5 separate regions of the Homo sapiens genome follow, and all the other regions are linked to region 4. The links are contacts of gene promoters, found by promoter capture Hi-C in blood cells and fetal thymus (Javierre and others, 2016). All regions are on one chromosome and are shown on one strand. The core of a region is centred on a gene start or on the middle of the fragment in contact, and the rest is flanking DNA. Distances in the headings are between cores, read along the strand shown. Region 1 overlaps RBBP5 (RB binding protein 5, histone lysine methyltransferase complex subunit). Region 2 has its middle 7.4 kb from the start of RBBP5. Region 3 overlaps CDK18 (cyclin dependent kinase 18). Region 4 holds the start of NUAK2 (NUAK family kinase 2). Region 5 has its middle 9.4 kb from the start of TRK-TTT8-1.

Evidence for each region. Contacts are between HindIII fragments. The CHiCAGO score rates a contact against its expected background, and 5 or more counts as called.
Region 1: a fragment that was not itself captured here is called in contact with the fragment with the promoter of NUAK2 in region 4 in 1 of 17 cell types (neutrophils); the score reaches 5.1 in neutrophils.
Region 2: a contact is called between a fragment that was not itself captured here and the fragment with the promoter of NUAK2 in region 4, in 1 of 17 cell types (neutrophils). The highest score is 5.6, in neutrophils.
Region 3: a fragment that was not itself captured here is called in contact with the fragment with the promoter of NUAK2 in region 4 in 2 of 17 cell types (naive B cells and total B cells); the score reaches 7.8 in naive B cells.
Region 5: a contact is called between a fragment that was not itself captured here and the fragment with the promoter of NUAK2 in region 4, in 2 of 17 cell types (naive B cells and total B cells). The highest score is 7.6, in naive B cells.

What each region holds. Positions count from the first base shown.
Region 1 is chr1:205,109,795-205,112,494 of GRCh38, reverse strand. The region is part of intron 3 of RBBP5 (RB binding protein 5, histone lysine methyltransferase complex subunit); the gene reads left to right. Among named protein-coding and RNA genes, the nearest start is that of RBBP5, 11 kb to the left of the region's middle. The HindIII fragment of the contact is 2,830 bases long and covers 29-2,700 here.
Region 2 is chr1:205,128,033-205,130,732 of GRCh38, reverse strand. No RefSeq gene overlaps it. Among named protein-coding and RNA genes, the nearest start is that of RBBP5, 7.4 kb to the right of the region's middle. The HindIII fragment of the contact is 2,530 bases long and covers 8-2,537 here.
Region 3 is chr1:205,520,873-205,523,572 of GRCh38, reverse strand. CDK18 (cyclin dependent kinase 18) reads right to left here. Exons shown (of 16, transcript NM_212502.3): 2 at 276-426; 3 at 1-90. The coding sequence starts at 405. Among named protein-coding and RNA genes, the nearest start is that of CDK18, 18 kb to the right of the region's middle. RefSeq lists an enhancer at 1,322-2,147. The HindIII fragment of the contact is 168 bases long and covers 1,167-1,334 here.
Region 4 is chr1:205,320,353-205,323,052 of GRCh38, reverse strand. NUAK2 (NUAK family kinase 2) reads left to right here and starts at 1,308. Exons shown (of 7, transcript NM_030952.3): 1 at 1,308-1,655. The coding sequence starts at 1,425. RefSeq lists a silencer at 1,622-1,801. The HindIII fragment of the contact is 5,000 bases long and covers 1,071-2,700 here.
Region 5 is chr1:205,482,209-205,484,908 of GRCh38, reverse strand. No RefSeq gene overlaps it. Among named protein-coding and RNA genes, the nearest start is that of TRK-TTT8-1, 9.4 kb to the right of the region's middle. The HindIII fragment of the contact is 5,521 bases long and covers 1-2,700 here.

The sequences.
Region 1 (2,700 bases), core at 194-2,693, 210 kb after region 4:
TTTGCATACAGGTACATATACTAAAGCTTTATATGTCCTATACAAGAACTATATTTAAGATTTAGTGGAGATGAAAGCACAAAGAAGGAAGTTATCAATTGTAGTGAAGGGGAATAACGGTCAGAAAAGCCGTCATAGATGAGATAATTTATAACTGTATTTTATTTTAATTTTTTTGAGACAGAGTCTTGCTCTGTTGCCCAGGCTGGAATGCAGTGGTGCGATCTCGGCTCACTGCAACCTCCACCTCCCGGGTTCAGGCAATTCTCCTGCCTCAACCTCCTGAGTAGCTGGAATTACAGGTGCACACCACCATGACCGGCTGATTTTTGTATTTTTAGTAGAGACAGTGTTTTGCCATGTTGGCCAGGCTGGTCTTGAACTACTGACCTCAGGTAATCTGCTTGCCTTGGCCTCCCAAACTGTTAGGATTGCAGGTGTGAGCCTCCATGCCCAGCCAGATAATTTATAACTTTAAATTTGTAAGATAAGTAGATGTTGCCAGATATATTCCAAGCAGAGGGCACTGCACAGGCCAAGGCATATCAGCTTGAAACAAGTATGGTACAATGGGGAACTACAGGTATCAGGATAGCTGGATTGTGGTATGGGACATACGATATGACAAGAGCCAAGGTAAACCAAGGTCCTCATGGAGAACCTCGTCTGCCATACTCAGGAATTTGATTCCTAGCTCATATGTACTCTGAAGTCATTAAAAGATTTTGGCAGGAAAGTCACATGATGAGCTTTTATTTTAGAAAGATCTTCAAAGCAACAAGTAGAAAAGAGATTGAAGGGGCAACAGTAAGTGAACATAGGAGAACTGCTGTGGTCTAGGCTGGAGATAATGAGTGTTGCAGTAAGAAAGGAGCCAAGTTAGACAGATGTGAGAAATGGTAGAAATAAGAGGACTTAGTCATTAATTTGATTGGGGTGTGAGTGAAATGGAGAAGTTAAGATAATTCTTAGGTTTCTGGCTTGGTTGAAGATACTCATTAATGGAAGATTTGAGGGGGAAGTGGTGAGTTTGAGATTATGGTTGCATGTCTCCTATTATTTTCATGTTAGTTTATTGCAAATATTTGTGTTAGAGTATCTTCCCTGTAAGATCTTAAGTGCTGTTTGAGTACAAACCTTGTGTGCCATTTCACTGCTATGTTCTCAGCTTCTAGCGTTGTACCTGATATACAGTAGCCATTCAGATACTTGTCGGATGAATGGGAAATGTCCCAATAAGCATCTGAGATGCCCAAAGGGCATTTGGTCTATGAGTTCTCATTACAGTAGACTTCCAGAAGTGTTATTAGTCAGTCAAAGGATATAAAGTAAGAGATTTTTCAACCCCTCCCTCCAACATTTTTAATATTTTAAAATCACAAAACCTATACTTGATTATTTAAAAGTTTTTTGTTTTTTTTAAATTTTTTCGAGACAGAGTCTTGCTCTGTCACCCAGGCTGGAGTGCAGTGGCACGATCTCGGCTCACTGCAACCTCCGCCTCCCAGATTCAAGTGATTCTCCTGCCTCAGCCTCCTGAGTAGCTGGGATTACAGAAGCAGGCCACCACGCCCGGCTAAGTTTTGTATTTTTAGTAGAGGTGGGGTTTCACCATGTTGGCCAGGCCAGTCTTGACCTCCCGACCTCAGGTGATCTGCCTGCCTTGGCCTCCCAAAGTGCCAAGATTACAGTAGTGAGCCACCGTGCTTGGCCATTTAAAAATATTTTTAAAAATTAAAAGAATATATAAATATGCAAAGTAAAAAATGAAAGCCCTTTGTCTACTTCTTAGGGTAACCACTGTTAAAGAGTGTGGAATATATTCTATCTATAAGATATCTATATCTTTTTATGTGGGAAATAATTAATACATATATCCACATAATATGTTTTTAAACAAAAATAAATATATTTTGTTCTGTAGCTTGCTTTTCCACTTAGCATATAGTGGATATTTCTCTGTGTCTCCTTATTTTATATAGTTGTGTCTATAGAGTATTGCACAGTATACATGCATCATAGATTTAACTGTTCCTTATTTGAGCATATTAGGGAACAAATTTTACCAAGGGAAGTTTTAGGTAGGCATGATAGCTGACTTCAACTATTAGTAAAGTTGATGTATGAAAGAGAGAAAAAATGGCCCAGGATGTAGAAGCAGAACTGGTAGGTACTGGCTGGGCACGGTGGCTCATGCCTGTAATCCCAGCACTTTCAGAGGCCGAGGCTCACCAATCACTTGAGGTCAGGAGTTCGAGACCAGCCTGGACAACATGGTGAAACTCCGTCTCTACTAAAAATACAAAAATTAGCTGGGTGCGGTGACATGCGCCTGTAATCCCAGCTACTCGGGAGGCTGAGGCAGGAGAATCGCTTGAACCGGCATATGGAGGTTGCGGTGAGCCGGGATCTGCCTGGGCGACAGAGCGAGACCCTGTCTCGGAAAAAAAAAACCCAAAAAACAAAACAGAACTAGTAGGTAGTGAACAGAAGTTAGCTATAGGGAAACAAAGTTAACTCCAAGTAGAGAGGAGCTCCCAAGCAGAGGTGCTGTGGGTGGGATTGACTGCCCAGGAGAGAGCTATCTGAGAGCTGTTCCTGCCTGAGCTTGCCACCCCCCTTGTTAGGATGCTGCAGAAGAAATTCAAGCACTGGATGGGGGCCATAGGTAGACTTTAGCACATTGGAATCAGTAAAGAC
Region 2 (2,700 bases), core at 23-2,522, 190 kb after region 4:
AGAAGCTTATGTTCAAAGAATTGATTAGGCATTCCCTTAAGATATTAATGAACTGGAGAGAAACTCACTATATTCCAATTTTCCTTTCCTTCTAGCTAATAGTCTTTTGTTTCCTAGCTCCAGAAAGTTTAGTGTATCCTGGTGCTAAAGATAAATTAAGGTCAGGCACAGTGGCTCATGCCTGTAATCCTAGCACTCTGGAAGGCTGAGGTGGGCAGATTGCTTGAGTCCAGGAGTTTGAGACTAGCCTAGGCAGCATGGTGAAACCCTGTCTCTACAAAAGATACAAAAATTAGCCAGGCATGGTGGCACATGCCTGTAGTCTCAGCTACTTGGGAGGCTGAGGTGGGAGGATCACCAGAGCCCAGGAGGTAGAGGCTGTAGTGAGCCGTGATTGCACCACTGCACTCCAGCCTGGGTGACAGAGTAAGACACTGTCTCAGAAAAAAAAAAAAAAAAAAGGGATAAATTAAGTGCTTAATAAAGTGCTTCTAAGAATTTTCTTTCTTTTTCCCCTGACACTGGCCTTTTATCTTCTATCTATCAAAGTGTAAGACTGTCCATGTGGCTGCAAAATCCTCTACAAATAAAAGTATACCCCATGAGTACACACATGAGATCACTTTTTCAGTTCTATTGTTCATACAGGCACAAGCAAGAAAAAATTTGAGAGAGAAGAGTATCATGATAGTACAATCTTGATCCATGATCTTGAGAAAAAGCTGTCTACATCTGGGATGCCATCTGCTTCTGGAGAGAATCTTCCCTGGTTAGCTTTACCTTAAGGTTTCCAATCAGTATACAGTTCCAAGAGTCTGGAGGAGGCCCTTCTGAGTTGTGAGATTATGAGACCAAGGTTCAGGATCTCAAAGTTTTGCTGCATTGTGGATGCCAAGGGCAGTTTTTCTGTGATGTTGCCCTCAGAAGACCCAATCGATCTCCAGGTTCTAGATTGTGAAAGGTTTGATTGTCCTCAGTCAGTGGACTATGAAAGTTTTTTTTAACCTGGTGAAAATACACTTTGGCATAATGCATTAAAACCTTGTAGCATTTAGTCATATCAGTATTTAGTAGCAGAAGATACAAGACGTTCTATTATTAGGTGCATAGGCCTTTCCAGTGACTATTTATTTCATAAGGGGTCAACTTCCATCTTCTACTGGAAGTGGATCTGATTGTCATCAATCTGGTACACCTTTGACCAAGGCAATCTAGTCAATTCAGTTAGCTTTGCCTAATGTTATTGTATCTGCAATCCTTTTTTAAAAACTGGCCAGCCGCGGTGGCTCATGCCTGTAATCCCAACACTTTGGGAGGCCAAGGCAGGAGGATCGCCTGAGGTCAGGAGTTTGAGACCAGCCTGGCCAACATGGTGAAACCCCATCTCTACTAAAAATATAAATATTAGCCAGGCATGGTGGCAGTTGCCTGTAATCCCAGCAACTTGGGAAGCTGAGGCAGAAGAATCACTTGAATCCGGGAGGCACACGTTGCAGTGAGCTGAGATCATGCCATTGCACTCCAGCCTGGACAACAGAGGGACATTCTATCTCAAAAAAACCAAAAAAAAACAAAAAACTGTTTTATGGCCAGACGCCGTGGCTCATGCCTGTAATCCCAACACTTTGGGAGGTCGAGGAGGGTGGATCACCTGAGGTCTGGAGTTCAAGACCAGCTTGGCCAACATAATGAAACACCACCTTTACTAAAAATACAAAATTAGCTGGGTGTGGTGGCACATGCCTGTAATCCCAGCTACTTGAGAGGCTGAGGCAGAAGAATCACTTGAATCTGGGAGGCAGAGGTTGCAGTGAGTCGAGATTATACCATTGCACTCCAGCCTGGGCAACAAGAGTGAAACTCTGTCTGAAAAATAAATAAATAAATAAATAGGCCAGGCGCGGTGGGTCATGCCTGTAATCCCAGCACTTTGGGAAGCTGAGGTGGGCAGATCACCTGAGGTCAGGAGTTCAAGACCAGCCTGGCCAACATGGTGAAACCCCGTCTCTACTAAAAATAGAAAAAATTAGCCGGGTGTGGTGGCAGGCGCCTGTAATCCCAGCTACTAGGGAGGCTGAGGCAGGAGAATTGCTTGAACCCAGGAGGTGGGAGGCGGAGGTTGCAGTGAGCCGAGATCGCGCCATTGCACTCCAGCCTGGGCAACCAGAGTGAAACTCCGTCTCAAAAAAATAAAAATTAAAAAATTAAAAAAAAACAAAATAAATAAATAAAACTGTTTTTACAACTTGTCCAGTGAAATAAGTATTAGTACTTCTATCACTACAACCAGAAAACATGCACTGAAAATGACAATTGAATAAAATTCTTCTATAAAGGTTTAAGTGACCCATCAGGTAGCAGAAATGTACTTGAAGTTGTGTTCATCTTCCCAGGATTATGGGTTTAACAAACAAAACATTGATCATAAACTATTTTAGCAATTTAGAACAGTCATCATACACACCCACTCACGCACACACATACACACACATTTAATTTGGAACATTTTATCTCTTCATGATGAATCATGGAAAGCTTAATAATGGAGGCTTTAAGGACTCAGGAAGGGCCAGGCAGCCATCAGGGTTCTCCATGAGTCTGCGCCTAATATTGGACTTATATTTTAATACCAACTGTGTTTCCCCAATTTAGGTGCATAGCACTGTTTATTAGATGGGTTAGCATAGGTAATTTGAGTTG
Region 3 (2,700 bases), core at 1-2,500, 200 kb before region 4:
AGAGCTGCCCCGGCTCCTCCCCGCTGTCTGTTGGGGAGAAGGTGCTGCACTCCTGCGGGGGGTCTCTGCCAAGAGGACCGAGCTGCAAGTCTAAGAGGGACAGGCGTCAGCTCCCCTCCCTGCCTCTCTGTCCTGAGGGAGAGAAGGGTAGCCCCCCTCCCCCAGCGCTGTGCTCCTCCCCTAAGGCCAGTGGGGAGGGGGTGGGCGGGGAGGGGAAGGTGACTGGGGAGTGTCTGGTAGGTGGGAGAGGTGCTGGGTGGGCCCAGACCCCTCACTCTCATTCCGCCGGTTGTGGAGCTGGTTGAATTGCTCCGTGAATTCAGCCAAGGATTCTTCAATGGTCTCAGTGCGGGGCACTGACAGGGAGAAACGGCGCTTAAAGTTCTTCATCTTGTTCATGATCATGAGGGACTGGGCAGCCGGGTCCTGAGATGGGAAGTGTGAGAAGAGCAGTTGAAAAGAACAAGGCAACCAGTCCAGGTCTCCACCCACTGGGAATTCAGCTCTCTCATCAAGCTCTGTCGCCCTGTATGCCACCATCACTGGGAGCCAGGGTTGTGTCTTCTGCAAAGTTTGACCCCTCTGAGGGTGGGTGTTCACCCTCTTCTTCCCAGTCACCTTCTTCCTCCCAGTGACCCTCAGCACTGCCTCCACTGCCCACCGCCCGCCCCGCCACGCCCTGTGCAGTTCTCTATGGACCACCTAGTCCAGCAAAGTATTGGTCATAATAGCAGGCATGATGTGCAAAGAGGATCCTGAAGGCCCCCCAGACCTAAGCCCTTTAGCTGCTGGAGGTCTAGAGAGTTCTGGGGGAAGGGCTGGGGTGGCAGGGAGGGTGCCAGAACCAGGCAGTCCTTGGACCAGCAGAAATTTACCAACTTGTGTCCAAGGGCCTGAATGTGTCAACAGCCAATAAATCTTACTGACCAAGGCCCGTAAACTGAATGTCAGCTTGGCCAACACCCTTGGGACATGATTGGGTCCAAACCTCATTTCACCTCTGATACTGACACCTGAAGGTCTCTGCTCTGGCATGCCCCAGGAGGCAAGAGGGGAAAAAGAGGAGGAAGGGAAGAGTGCATCAGAGCTGGCCAGCTGCACCTTCTCTCCAGCTGAAATACAGGAGGTCAGGAGCAGTGGAAGGTCTCAGGGGAAACACGGAAGCTTGCCATTAATAGAGTCGAGCCCTAGGGAAGATGAGGCTTGATCCCTGCAGGCCTCTTCCCATGCCAGAGCCCTCCAAGCAGGCAGGTATCCCCTACCGAGAACACCATGGAGGAGCGGGGTAAGCTGCTCTGCCCACCCCCACGGTCCTGTCCCCAACCATGAAAGCTTTCTTCTTCAGGCTACCCAGCTCCTCGTGCCCTCTGAATTAGAGGATGCCCTGCTGGCCACCCAATGAGACCCATGCAACTGCTTCTTCCTGCAGACCCTCCCTTCTCCCTCCTGCCCTGAAAACCCAGAGCAGCGCTGTCTCACCTCCCCTCCACTTCCCTTCATGGTTTCCTACACGCTCAGTGCAGCCCCCCTCTCATCCTGCTCTGCACACACTGCCCTTGAGGCCTCACAAGGGCTTCCACCCATGCTGGCAAGAAGGCACCAGGGGGTGAGCCCTATGATGGGCCGCCCTGCACCCGCTCCCAGCTGTTACCCATGCACCAGCACCAGGCACAGCCCACTCCTGGAGGATGCTCTCAGCCCTGCGACTGGCCAGCACCTAGTTGCCAAGGCGACCAGGCCCTTCCCGAATCCTCCTGGTTTAAGGGATTATGGGTCAGTAACATGTTGGCTTTGCTTAATGATCACATCCTTCTGTCCTCAGCCAGCCTGGAAAGGGTCCTCTGTCTGGCAGCGCATGCTCCTGGCTGCCCCCAAACACAGCTCAGTGGTGGCCCTCCAGCTGCCCTGATCCTCATGGCTGGGTATGAACAAGCTCTCCTTCATTCCTTTAGCGGGCTGGCACCTTTCAGAGTGGAGGCCTCGGGTCTGCAGTGCTAGGCAGGCCCATCTCTGTCAGTGGGCCCTGAAGTCTCACTCAGTTCCACTGAACAAATGAACTGGCCGGGCATGGTGGCTCATGCCTGTAATCCCAGCACTTTGGGAGGCTGAGGCAGGTGCATTACTTGAGGTCAGGAGTTTGAGACCAGCCTGGCCAACATGGCGAAACCCTGTCTCTACTAAAAATACAAAAAAATTAGCTGGGCATGGTGGTGTGCACCTGTGATCCCAGTTACTTGGGAGGCTGAAGCAGGAGGATTGCTTGAACCCTGGAGGCGGAGGTTGCAGTGAGTGGAGATTGCGCCATTGCACTCCTGCCTGGGCGACAGAGCAAGACTCTGTCTTAAAAAACAAACAAACCAAAAAACTGAGCACCTACTATGCGCCAGCATTGTGCCAGGCATGAGGGTTTCAGAGGCAAGTAAAGGGTGGTCCCCATTCTCAAGAAACTCAGGGGCTGGTGATGCCTCCTTTGATGAGAAGGTAGCTGAAAGCGCTTCCTCTGGCTTCCTTGGCAGAGCCCACCAGCCTTGGACTTTCCTGACTCCCCATCCCTAAACTCCTTCCTGTCAGTCATCTTCAGCCGCTCCTCCGTGGCTCTGTGCAATGTCTCAGGCCTGCTGTCTGCAGGACTCTTGCAGACAGGAAGCTTCCAGAGGGCAGCCACCATGCCTCACACTTGTGTATAGCATTCAGGCCACA
Region 4 (2,700 bases), core at 59-2,558:
AGGCCGAGGCGGGCGGATCACGAGGTCAGGAGATCAAGACCATGGTGAAACCCTGTCTCTACTAAAAATACAAAAAATTAGCCGGGCGTGGTGGCGGGCGCCTGTAGTCCCAGCTACTCGGAGAGGCTGAGGCAGGAGAATGGCGTGAACCCGGGAGGCGGAGCTTGCAGTGAGCAGAGATCGCACCACTGCACTCCAGCCTGGGCGACAGAGGGAGACTCCGTCTCAAGTCAAACCTCATAACCTACCACCAGTGCTCCTGGCACCAAAATCACAAGAAAACCTTGGGTGGAGCAACCATTTTCAGACTTAGGGACACAGGTTAGATAGTCGGCATGTAAAAATGTTAAATAAATATGTATCCCTTCGGGTTCTCTCCACCTCCAGCCGACACATCCTAAATAAATTCCACTAAGTGGTTGAGGGAATCTACTAAACCTTAGAAGCCCTCTTTTTTTTTGAAACGGAGCCTCACTTTGTTGCCCAGGCTGGAGTGCAGTGGCGCCATCTTGATTCACTGAAACCTCTGCCTCCTGGGTTCAAGCGATTCTTCTGCCTCAGCCTCCAGAGTAGCTGGGATTACAAGCGCGCACCACCACGCCCGGCTAATTTTGTATCTTTAGTGGAGATGGGATTTCGTCATGTTGGCTAGGTTGGTCTTGAACTCCTGGACCTCAAGCGATTCGCCTAAGAAGCCCTCTTTGAGGAAGAAGGAAGAAGTTTCCAGGGCCATTGGATTCCAATATCCAAGTAAGGTTGATCTAACTGAAGACAAGTGAACTCGAACCATAGGACAGCTCTGCACTAACCCTCCCACTAGGCTGGATTCTGCCTCTGTTCCATCCCAGCTCCCTTTCTCCTTTATGGACTCAATGAAGTGGTCAAGCAATTATAGATTTTGGCTTGGGACAAGCAAATTACTCAGGATGAAGAAATACTTTGGTGACCTTTAGTGCCCTCAGATCGCCCCTTGCCAACTGAGAACAGAGTACAATAAAACAACAGGGCATTAAGCAGGACCAAGCGCCACTCAGAGGCAAGTGCAGCTCCAAGGGCCCTCAGAGTAAGCTTCTGGGCCTCAGGCGGCCTTCGCTGGAATCCCCTAGTCCCCATTCCTGGTGGGCGGGTTCCATTGACACCTTTCCCGGCCACGCCGAGGGGGAGGAGGCGGGGCCTGGAGCCCCGGAGAGCCAATGTGGACGGCCGTGGTCACGCGCCGCCGTCGAGCAGGCCAATGGGCGCCGGGGGGCGTGTCCAGGGCCTCGGGCTCAGGGCGTTTATAACAACTTGGAATGCTGTGCTTTACTGCGCGCTCTGGTACTGCTGTGGCTCCCCGTCCTGGTGCGGGACCTGTGCCCCGCGCTTCAGCCCTCCCCGCACAGCCTACTGATTCCCCTGCCGCCCTTGCTCACCTCCTGCTCGCCATGGAGTCGCTGGTTTTCGCGCGGCGCTCCGGCCCCACTCCCTCGGCCGCAGAGCTAGCCCGGCCGCTGGCGGAAGGGCTGATCAAGTCGCCCAAGCCCCTAATGAAGAAGCAGGCGGTGAAGCGGCACCACCACAAGCACAACCTGCGGCACCGCTACGAGTTCCTGGAGACCCTGGGCAAAGGCACCTACGGGAAGGTGAAGAAGGCGCGGGAGAGCTCGGGGCGCCTGGTGAGTGCGGCTCCCTCTCGCGGCGCGGGGCGGGCTCCGGCTTGGCCGCCGGCAGGGAGCGGAGGAGGGCGGGCGGCGGCTCGCTCGTTGCTCGGCGGAGAGGCCAGCGTGGTCTTTACCGCGCTGAGCTTGCGGGGCTACTGCGGGGTGTCCCTGGCAGATGTGTCAGTCCGTGATTGCAGGGACAGTGGTCGCAAACTTGCGAACCCCAGCCAGCAACACCGTACTGCTGTGATGATTGCCAAATAAAAGGGAGGCTATGGATAGTTGGCGCGGAAAAACGAATCGTGTCGTGTCCTGGGATAAGATGGATGGGACTTAAGTTGAGTTTTGCTGGGAAAAGACTGTTCAATAGAGTGCAATGGAAAGAGGAAGTAGAAGGCACCCCATCTTAATAGGTATTTGGTAAATATGTGTGTGGTTGAATGAATGGATGAGGTGTGGATTTCCCCAACTCCAAGAATCTGGCAACCCAGCACACTGGAGCTCTGGCACGGGGTGGGTTTTGACATTTAGGTCCTTTCCAGCTCTAAAATTTAGTTGAAATTTCATTATGATGAGTTTTTGATTCTGGAAAATGTGAAACCAGGTCCACTGTACCAGAGACACCTTTCGGTTTGGGGGCCTTTTCAAGAACATGCCCTGTTACTTTGGTGCGAGCGTAGGAGTCTAGCAGTCTGTGTGACCTTGGGCAATTTCCTTCATCTCTGTACTTTGTTTCCCCTTTTGCAGAACTGTAGAAAACACAGCCTGCCTCACAAGCTGCTGTGAGGATTGAATAAGATCGAAATATGAACTTATATTGCTCCTAACACATAGAACTTGCGGTGAGATAGCCGGGCGCGGTGGCTCACGCCTGTAATCCCAGCACTGTGGGAGGCCGAGGCGGGCGGATCGTGAGGTCAGGAGATCGAGACCATCCTGGCTAACACAGTGAAACCCCGTCTCTACTAAAAATACAAAAAATTAGCCGGGCGTGGTGGCGGACGCCTGTAGTCCCAGCTACTCGGGAGGCTGAGGCAGGAGAATGGCCTGAACCCAGGAG
Region 5 (2,700 bases), core at 69-2,568, 160 kb before region 4:
CTCAGCCTCCCGAGTAGCTGGGATTACAGGCATGCGCCACCACACACGGCTAATTTTATATTTTTAGTAGCAATTGGGTTCCTCCATGTTGGTCAGGTTGGTCTGGAACTCCGGACCTCAGGTGATCCGCCCGCCTCAGCCTCCCAAAGTGGTGGGGTTACAGGCGTGAGCCACCATGCCTGGTCATAGCTGGTGTCTTCTGATGCCAGGTTGTGGCTCTCTCCTGTAAGCAGGCTGCCCTTAACAACCGCACCCTCCCTGAGGAGGCTCTAATGTCTGCAGTTTCTTTCAATGGTCCTGCTCCTGACCTCCTCCCTGGTAAAACACCAAACCACCCTTTCTGCCCTCTCAGAACTCAGAATGGTGCAAGGTGCTTCCATGCACAGGAGCTCATTTCTACCAAGAACAGGCTCCCCCAGGGCATTTGAGGACAGCGACTCTTATCTCAAGGGGCTTTGGATGCAGTTGGGAATACAAAGGCAGACAGTTCTACACACACAAAAATGGGAGGCTGGGCAGTGACTCTGAGGGCCAGGCAACTGACCCAGACAGTGACAGAGAGATTGTGGGGCTGTGGTGGTCAGGGAAGGCTGCCAGGAGCATGGGGACCTTTGGGAAGCTACAGGGGAGTGAAGAGGCAGGAACGCTCAGGGTCTTTCTAGGTATATGGTGAACCAGACAGACATCTGTACCAGACGGCAGAGCGAAGCCCATCAAGTTAGAGCAGGCTGGTTCTCAGAGAGCTTCAAATGCCAGGCGAAGGGAGGTCAATTTGGTCATGTGAGAGACGGGGAGTCATTGAAGGTGTTTGAGGGAGGGGGGACAGGAAGCAGTGGCATTTCAGGAAGGCTGACATCCAAGTGAGGAGGAGACTGGGAGCATGTCTGGGACTGAAGAGTAGACTAATTTTTCTTTTAATTTTTGTAGACTAGGGGAGTATGTTTCTGTGGCCCAGGCTTAAGGTAACTAACTGTAGACGCAACGGAGAACTGCCAGGATGTCCTGCAGGATGTGATGTTGGGGGTAAAGGAGAAGGACCAGCCCAACATGGGAATAACTGGAGAGTCAAGCAATGTGTGTGTGTGTGTGTGTGTGTGTGTGTGTGTGTGTGTGTGTGTGTCGGGGGACGGGCGTGTGATGTCAGGGAAAGGATCATTAGTTCTTTTTATATGAGGGTTAATTTGAGGACATCAAGTAGAAATGCTTCGTGAACAGATCAAGATACAGGACAGGATGTTGGAAGACAGTCAGGGCTTCAGTGTGGATAAGGAGGGAATCAGCCACAGGGGCATGGTCTTGCAGCCGGGGAGGGACTCTGGATGCAGGGGGAGCCAGTGTGGAGAGGGAGGCTGAGGCCAGCAGGAAGAGAACTAGAGGTGGGAGGGGTCAGGGCAAGGGTATGTGTTGAGGTCTCCCCAGTGGCCAGTCCCCTTCTCCACCTCAGCAGCTCCTATTTTCATTTGGAAGATCCTGGCAACTCTGGGGACAGAAGGGATCTCTGGCTGTGGAGTGGAGCACATGGTATCATGATTGATTCGAGGGGGACATGTCTCCTAAGTCTTGCCAACCAGAGACTTACAGGGCTTTTGAATGACACCCTGGGACAAGAAGCTCTTTCTATCACTGTGTGAAGGAAGAGGCAGGTGGCACCAAGAGCAGCAGCCTGGGAGGGAGCATGAGGCTGAGGAAGACAGAGGGGCAGAAAGAAAGAACTAGCCCTATGTGACATCCCTGCGTTGCTCCATCAGTCCTTGCTGGAACCATTTGTGAATGAATAGATGTCCTGTATTTTTTAGCCTGTTAGGTAGAGAGCTTTTCTGTTTCCTGCAAATAGAAGATTCCTAATTCCTATGGAAGATGCAAGAGAGCCTGAAGAATATTGCTTTCAATAATTAAGGAAGAACATTTCAAAATGGAAGAAGGGGTGAATAGTATCAAATGCTGAGAGTGTCAGATCAGAGACTTTTCTGAGGGGGAGCGGTTCTGAGGGGGAGCGGTGAGGGAGAACAGGGTCTTGCTCTGTTGCCCAGGCTGGAGTGTAGTGGTTTGATCGCGGCTCACTGTAGCCTCGACGTCCCGGGCTCAAGCGATCCTCCCACCTCAGCCTCCCAAATAGCTGGGACTACAGACATGTACCACCATGCCTGACTAATTTTTTTTAATTTTTGTAGAGATGGGGTCTTGCTATATTGCCCAGGCTGGTCTCAAACTCCTGGGTTCAAGCGATCCTCCTGCCTTAGCCTCCCAAAGTGCTAGGATTACAAGCGTGAGCCACCGCACCCAGCCCAGAGATGTTTTATAGTTACTCAAAAACTGTGTGACAGAAAAGGAACCTGGGGGTCAGAGAGGCTTCTAGAATCTGGCAGCCCCTACAGCCAGGACTCAGAACTCCCAGTCTGATCAGTTACCTCAAGGAGGAAAGGGAGATGTTTCCCCTTGGGGGAGCTATTTCCAGAGCTCCTCCTCACCCATGTCTTTGCTGTAGCCCTCCCTCCCCCAAGCCCAGCCCCACTCAACTCCTTTCCAGGGGCTCAGTGGCCATCTCCCTGCCCCCAGGCCAAACTCACCTGACTGTACCTCAGATAGAAGAATAGCTAATATTTTTAAAACTGTTTAGGGAAAAAGAAACCACCTTCCTCTTTACTTGCCACCCCAACACTGGGACAGTTCTTCCTCATGTCTAACCTAATTCCCTTCAGC